Linked DNA regions of Homo sapiens: region 1 is linked to region 2. The links are contacts of gene promoters, found by promoter capture Hi-C in blood cells and fetal thymus (Javierre and others, 2016). All regions are on one chromosome and are shown on one strand. The core of a region is centred on a gene start or on the middle of the fragment in contact, and the rest is flanking DNA. Distances in the headings are between cores, read along the strand shown. Region 1 holds the start of TSPAN5 (tetraspanin 5). Region 2 holds the start of DNAJB14 (DnaJ heat shock protein family (Hsp40) member B14).

Region 1 (3,607 bases), core at 294-2,793, 1.3 Mb after region 2:
ATTTCATCCAAAGGGCTGAAGCTACTGTTATCCCGTGTCATAGCTTCTGAGGTACTGAATGAGTAGGATCTCCTGGCCCTCCCATCTCTGTGGGTACCTCGTTCATACTTGCGACCTCAATATAGCCTCAATCCTGCTGAAGCCCAGTACTATCTCTAAATGTGGTTTATTGCAGGAAAAAGTAGCTTCTTGACTAGCCAAAACTTGACTGCCGGTTGTCAACTAGCCAGTTTTTGAGAAAAGTGAGAGGTTGTTACGTAGGAAACCTTATAACTAGAGGCTCTCAAACTCAAGTATTTAAGTATCATCTTTTAGATTTCTGTGTCCAGGATCGGGTTGCACTGGGTGGTGCTGGAAAAATTTTTTGATCTCACCTCCTTCTAGCCTTTTGAATCCTTAAAAATATTCCCATAGACATTTATACACAGTCCTGGGCGGTTCTTCCTTCTCCTTCCGTGAAATACTGGTACCTGCTTTGCCAACACCTATGAAAGTGCTCCAGGAGGAGGGCGGATAAGCAACTAATGAGCACACCTGCTCAGGTAGGGTTCTAAAACAATTTCCAGCCACCTGTTCTATTCTTCCCCAGAGTTCAAAAGCTTAATGGTTCGTGATCCAAAAACCCAATTCAGATTCCCCAGAAGACCTCCCTGGAATCCGTTGTGGATTCCTTCCTAGAGTTAGGAGGCAAGCAGGTTTCTTAGGCACTATTCTGTCGGGGTAGGGGGGAGCGTGCGCTGTCCGGGTTTGTGTGGTTGCAATAGACCCTAGGGCGAGGATCGCATCCCGGGCCAGGACTCCCTTGAGCCATCTCTTTTTCCTCGTCCCCATTTCTAGGATAAAACCCATTTCTCCGGTAGGTGGGGAGGTTGGGTTAGAGTCACACAGGGATTCAGGAAGCTTTCCTTTTCAACGTCCCATCCCTTCATCCTTTCCTCCCACTTCCCGTGGCTCTTTTCTCCACCTTCCCCAACTACCCCCTTTTCCATTCAGCGAAGTCCACGACGACTTTCCTTCCCTGTCCAGTGGCATCGCATCTTCTCTAGCCACATAAGCCTGTTGTGGAGGAGGGGGCGCCAGTGTGGCTACCCTGGAAGGGGTGTCGGGGGTGGCTCGCAGGTCCTCACTCACCCAGCCCTCTCCCCGAGGAGCGACCCTCTCGCCCGCGTCCCTCCAGAGCTGCGCCGCTCATCAATCCCGGTCACTCTGCCAGCCTGCTCCCCGGGCGCCCTTCCTTCTCCCTCTCGCCTGCGGTCCTCCACCCTCCCACCCCCTACCTACCCCGCAGCGACGTTCGGGGTCAGCGGCGCTTGGGGTTGGCCCGAGAAGGGGCGGGGATAAAGCGAGCGGTGGAAGGAGGCGGCTACGTGGTGCCACCGCCGCCCGGGAGCGCCCGACCCCGTGCGCGCGCGCGCCTAGCCAAGGCTTGGGCGGCGGGCGGAGCTGCGGGCGGCGCGGGCGGAGGAGCAGCCGGCCGGGCGGGCGGAGCGAGAGGCGGGCGGAGCGAGGGGTGGGAGGGCGCGCGCGAACGGGCGGGCGAGCAAGCGAGCGGCGTCTCCACCAGCATCTGCCGCGGCCGCCTTTGCCCGAAGCCCGGGGACGAACCGACGGACCGACCGCCTGGCGCACGGACGCGGGCGCTCGCTTTGTGTTCGGGGCTAGCGTCGGCGAGGCTTGAGCTTGCAGCGCGCGGCTTCCCTGCTTTCTCGCGGCCACCCCGGCTCCGGCGGCCTCGGCGCGCGAGGGGCTGGAGGTGCGGGAGCCGCTCTCCGCCGGTCGGTCCCCGCGCGGCTGAGCCCAGGCCGCCAGCGCCGCGGCCCCGTGCGGTGTCCCTGAGCTCCTGCTCCCCGCCGGGCTGCTCCGAGCAACGGTGCTTCGGAGCTCCAAACTCGGGCTGCCGGGGCAAGTGTCTTCATGAACCCAGAGGATGTCCGGGAAGCACTACAAGGGTCCTGAAGTCAGTTGTTGCATCAAATACTTCATATTTGGCTTCAATGTCATATTTTGGGTAAGTTGGAGCGCTCCTGGGATTCCAACTATTGTGGCCGATCGATTCGCGACGATTTCCCCCACGTTGTTCGTTGCCTTTACTTTTCGCAGCCCCGCAGGCGCTTGCCGGAGCAGCATAGAGGCATTCGCCTTCCGCCTTTCCAGCTTGCGCGTTGGAGAGATAAACATTTAATCCTTTCGAGGAATGGGAAGAGGTGAAAAGAGAAATCGAGGCGGAAAGGGGGCACCGAGGCCTTCTGGTGGCTTTTTGAGGAACGAATAGCAGGGATGCAGATAAAAGAAAGGGTTCGGCAGTTTGAGAAATGAGCAACCACACGAATTGGATTTGCTCTCGGTGGGATATAGATGTTGGGCAGAGCGTGGTGTCATAATAGGGAAGGCTAATCGGGCACGGCCGACCCTGAGGTCCACCTTCTAACAACGATCTGATTGGACGAGGGCTTGGCTCCGTGTTGCCGCGGCTGGTCTGTGCCATGCTCAGCGTGTATCTTCTTGCACCATCTCGGGCTTTGTGTAGGATGCAGATGCCGTGGTATATGGTCCTGTAATTGCACGTAAATAACGTTTCCTGCACGCTCTCCTCTTCAGCTGGAAAGCGCTCCCTGTGCGTAATGGACTGGTCAGTGGGGGTGCGGGGTAGAGGGATTTATTTGTATGTATATATCATCGTCAGGATAATAAGTCACCGTCAACATATATTTCAGTGTGTTCCTGCCCCACGTCCTCATTTTTAAAGGAGTGACACAGAGCGGGCCGTTTGGGGGAACCTTTGTAGAAATGCAAAGGAGAAGGTGTGCGAGGCATGTTTTATTGGGGAACCGAGAGAGCAAATGCTTTAACACAAGATTCAAATGATGCTCTGCTTGGGACTGCAATGTGTTGGGAACCTATTGTAATTAGGCTGGGACGCCTACTCTTTTTGTTTGTTTGTTTGTTTTGATTCTTTTCCTTGATCTGGCAAACGTGTTCAGCAGCCAGACAAAGAGTTCTCCAGGACAAGGGGAAAACGTTGGTTCAAAGACCATGTTATTTTTCTTCCCCTTCTCATCCCATCTCATCCTCTTCCTCAGTGGGCACCCGCATTTCCATAGAAAGTAAAGATGGTGGCTGTCTGGGTAGGGGGTTCTCTAAGTTGCTGTTCAGTGTGAGGTAAACAATGCTCCAACTGCAGGATCAATAATTATCCACAGCAGTCTGAACACGGAATGTATTTATTTGAATTCTCCTTTAATTTGGGCTGTTTGCTGTACGTATATACATCTGTGAGAATAGTTGTCAATACGGCTCTTCATATTCTTTTTTTGTACCGCACTCTTACCAGGTTATTTTATTTTCTGTTTTCTATTATAATACCTTGCATTGGTCATGTATGTTTTGTGAGGGGAAATGCAAGGGATTGGAGACCACTTTCCGTGTCAGCATGTCATCTGTCTTCAGGACTAATAAAGATAATGAGGGGACACATGAATGGATGTCATATCCGATCATTCCACAGGCAGTTTTTTGCCAGTGTTGTGCATGATTCCCGGGAGCAGTCACCCACCTCCCTGCAATTAAACACTGCTACAAGTACAGGAAGAAGGAATTATTTTCTTTC
Region 2 (3,687 bases), core at 1,056-3,555:
AATGCATCAAAAGACTTAAAGGTAAAGCGTATTACCCCTCGTCACTTGCAACTTGCTATTCGTGGAGATGAAGAATTGGATTCTCTCATCAAGGCTACAATTGCTGGTGGTGGTATGTTAACTTCTAACATTTTAAAAAATTTCTTCAGAGGAAGGAATTTTTTGCTGCTTTTAATTAGTTTTTCCAGGAGAGGAAATTTAAGTATATTTTCAATGATGGAAGTATGGTTGTATCATGAAATTTGATTTATATGTATAACTCAATGAATTTTTACTTCATACTTGAGCTGCATGTTTTTAAAGATACCTTTCAAGTTGAACAGTATACACTTTCTTGGTTTCAAATACTGTGATTTTTTAAAAAATCTTAAGTAGAATTAATTCCTGTCACTCTCCTAGGTGTCATTCCACACATCCACAAATCTCTGATTGGGAAGAAAGGACAACAGAAGACTGTCTAAAGGATGCCTGGATTCCTTGTTATCTCAGGACTCTAAATACTCTAACAGCTGTCCAGTGTTGGTGATTCCAGTGGACTGTATCTCTGTGAAAAACACAATTTTGCCTTTTTGTAATTCTATTTGAGCAAGTTGGAAGTTTAATTAGCTTTCCAACCAACCAAATTTCTGCATTCGAGTCTTAACCATATTTAAGTGTTACTGTGGCTTCAAAGAAGCTATTGATTCTGAAGTAGTGGGTTTTGATTGAGTTGACTGTTTTTAAAAAACTGTTTGGATTTTAATTGTGATGCAGAAGTTATAGTAACAAACATTTGGTTTTGTACAGACATTATTTCCACTCTGGTGGATAAGTTCAATAAAGGTCATATCCCAAACTAGTTGTGTATTAAATTTGCTTGGTTGTAATAGGAACTTGTTTTGAGTATCTCATCTAGCAGCAATAACTAAGCACATTTCTTTGTGACTGAACTGTCAAATCTGTAGATCAACAAAGTGAGATAGCCCAAGTATATTTTTTTAATGTTATATGAGCTACTAAAGTTTTAATTTAAAAAGTTGGCAGGAGCTGGAGTGGGATTGTCAGTTTCTTAGGCTAAGTGTGACCATTTCAGTTTGTACATTGGCTTCGCTTGCTGTGTGACAGCACTGCACTAGTATGCTGTTAGCATGGTGGACTTGGGGAGGGAGAGAATAGGTAGGAATGTCCTGTATATCCACAGAATGAACTCCGAATTTAAACTTTAAAGATAATAGTGCTACGTGCCAGGCCCTGCTTTGAAGTCTGAAGTTGTTAAGTACTCAGTAACATCATTGGGGATATACTATCTCCATTTTATCGAAGAGAAGCAGGGTTTCTTATTTGAAAGTACCGAGTTATGGTAGTTAGCAGAATTAACAGCTTGGCTCACAGCATTATGTAAAAATTGTTACCTTGTGGTTGGGTTGAGCAGGTCATTTTGACAGTTTGTCATGTTTTTTTTTAAAAAATTTGCACATAGCAAACATTCCCCCCACCCCCACCGCGAAGACTAACAAGACACGGTACTTCCAAGTGGTAATGTTATCCAAATGGGACGGAAAAGGTGAAATCAAAAGTTTGCTTTCGTTAGGGCAGCCCCTGAGGGGCTGATTCCTGCCTTGTTTTGGCTACACAGGATTAAGGTCGATCTGCACCACTCGTTGCAAGCTACAAATTAAACTGCTTTGTACTTTGGATAGCCAGACATCCGGGTCAGAAAAAATGTAGCTGAAATAAGGCTGCCATACAAGCCCTAAGATTAGGTTCAAACGACGCTCTAACGTGTCCCGGAAGTGCTGAGACTGGACTGACACCTTGGTCCTCACCTGACCGCATCCTCCCTCGCTTGAGGGGCCCAGAGGCGGAACCTCCAAGTCCTGGCAATTTTACTGAAAACGAGTGTCCCCTTCCCGGACCCTGTCCTCCTGGCCTGAGCTGCGAGGGCCTCGCCTGGAGGTCACAGGGCACGGCGCTACCAATGCCGGCAATCGGGTCCCGGGCGGAACCCCTCCCCGCGATGGGCAGCCCGGCTGCTATCGTCCGCCTCCCGGGCAGGTCCGCTTCGAGCCTGCTGGCGCCGTGCGCGGACCACCGAGTCAGCTCGGACGCCCCGGCCCAGGAGGTTGGTCCTGGGCCGGGACGGATGCGGATCGCGCCCTAGGGGCCCGCGGGGGGCGGGGAGGCCGCCGTGAGGAGGCGGAGCTGCGAGGCCCGCCCGTCCGCCCGGGCCGTCGCAGCCGCTGCCGCGGTCCCCTGCGCTCCTCCCCGCTGCCGCCGCACGCCCCCAGCCGGTCCCGCCTCGCCTCCTCCGCGGCGGCGGCTTCCGCCCTTCTTAGCTGCGCTGCCGGAGGAAACGGAAGAAGGAGCAAGCTATGGAGGGGAACAGGGATGAGGCTGAGAAATGTGTCGAGATCGCCCGGGAGGCCCTGAACGCCGGCAACCGCGAGAAGGCCCAGCGCTTCCTGCAGAAGGCCGAGAAGCTCTACCCACTGCCCTCGGCCCGCGGTGAGACCTCAGCGTCCCTTCTCTTCCTGCCCAATCCCCAGACCACCGCGTAGCCCGCCCCTGCCCCCACCTCGGCCCCTCCTGGAGGCCTGCGGGGCCCCCGGCCTGTCTGAGCCAGCCCCAGCCCCAGGCCCGGTGGGGAGCATCCCGACACACCCCCGCCCTGGCCCCAGCCCCGGCTCCGGGCTGGGGCTCGGGGAATGCTGCGCGAGGTTCCTCTGCACCCGCCTGCCCGCCGGCTCCGCGTTCCGCTGTCCTAAATGTCCGGGTTTCATTCTCCCTGGAGGAGACTTGTCTGGTCCCGTCTTACCACAGTGAGGCTTTATTTGTATCTGTGTTGTTTATGTGGCCCCCTCCCTCCCCATTCTCAGTCCTACATAAGGCCTAGGCCCCTATCGAAGTGAGAGGAATGGTGTACTCTAGTGGCTAATCTCAGATTCCATGTTTCTGAGATCTGTAGAAAACTGTTCCCAAAGCAAACATCGAATACCTGAGATGACATTGCTTTTCCCTGGGAGAGAGTTCCTTTAAAAGAGAAGAGCACACTTTCGGCAAGAATGGTCAAGAGTCAGTAATGATTGCTGAAGAGTATCTGATTTGATAACACCATGATTATCGACGAACCAAATCTCTGAGGAATATGGTACTGGGTTTCCTTTAGTTGAAGTCAGCTTATTTATTTTCCTACTCGATAGGCTTCGGAGTAATAATAGCCAACATTTATTGAGCACAAAGTGCCAATAGTTGTGCCCAACATTTTGCATGGATTATTTCATTTATTCCTCAGAACAATTCTGTGTAGAGGTGCAGGATTCATTTGACCAGGTTTACCCACGTGGAAACAGACTTTCTGATAATTAATGAATGAATTAGCGAATGAATGAAAGTATCTTACCCAAGGTCACACAACAATTAGTAGCAAAGTCAGAATAGTAGCTGAACTTTCAGACTCGAAAAGGCCTTTAACCGCTACACTGTTGCCTTGCCATTAGTATTTCCAGGTTAAGAAGAAAGTTATCGATAGATTCAATTAATTGTAGAAAATTATTAATGAAAATATGGGGCCACTTGTTTTGTTGTCTCTTAAATTTTTTTCTCTACGTCGTTGAAGCCCTGTGCTCTTTGCTTTTCTCTCTATCCTTTCCATTACATTGCCTTCTAACACTATACCCATGAGGACAGGAAAATAAAATGAAAGAAAAG

What was found. The method cuts DNA at HindIII sites, captures the fragments that hold promoters and counts their contacts. A CHiCAGO score of 5 or more calls a contact.
Region 1: a contact is called between the fragment with the promoter of TSPAN5 here and the fragment with the promoter of DNAJB14 in region 2, in 2 of 17 cell types (non-activated CD4 T cells and activated CD4 T cells). The highest score is 7.1, in non-activated CD4 T cells.

The regions. Positions count from the first base shown.
Region 1 is chr4:98,656,547-98,660,153 of GRCh38, reverse strand. TSPAN5 (tetraspanin 5) reads left to right here and starts at 1,543. Exons shown (of 8, transcript NM_005723.4): 1 at 1,543-2,008. The coding sequence starts at 1,928. It overlaps TSPAN5-DT (TSPAN5 divergent transcript), which reads right to left and starts at 1,252. Exons shown (of 3, transcript NR_148380.1): 1 at 1,132-1,252. It overlaps LOC112267901 (a long non-coding RNA gene), which reads right to left and starts at 1,431. Exons shown (of 3, transcript XR_939016.3): 1 at 1,282-1,431. RefSeq lists silencers at 1,386-1,565, 1,819-1,978. The HindIII fragment of the contact is 4,978 bases long and covers 903-3,607 here.
Region 2 is chr4:99,945,236-99,948,922 of GRCh38, reverse strand. It overlaps DNAJB14 (DnaJ heat shock protein family (Hsp40) member B14), which reads left to right and starts at 2,305. Exons shown (of 8, transcript NM_001031723.4): 1 at 2,305-2,484. The coding sequence starts at 2,352. H2AZ1 (H2A.Z variant histone 1) reads left to right here. Exons shown (of 5, transcript NM_002106.4): 4 at 1-112; 5 at 400-835. The coding sequence ends at 461. RefSeq lists a silencer at 2,042-2,701 and an enhancer at 2,872-2,921. The HindIII fragment of the contact is 11,087 bases long and covers 1-3,687 here.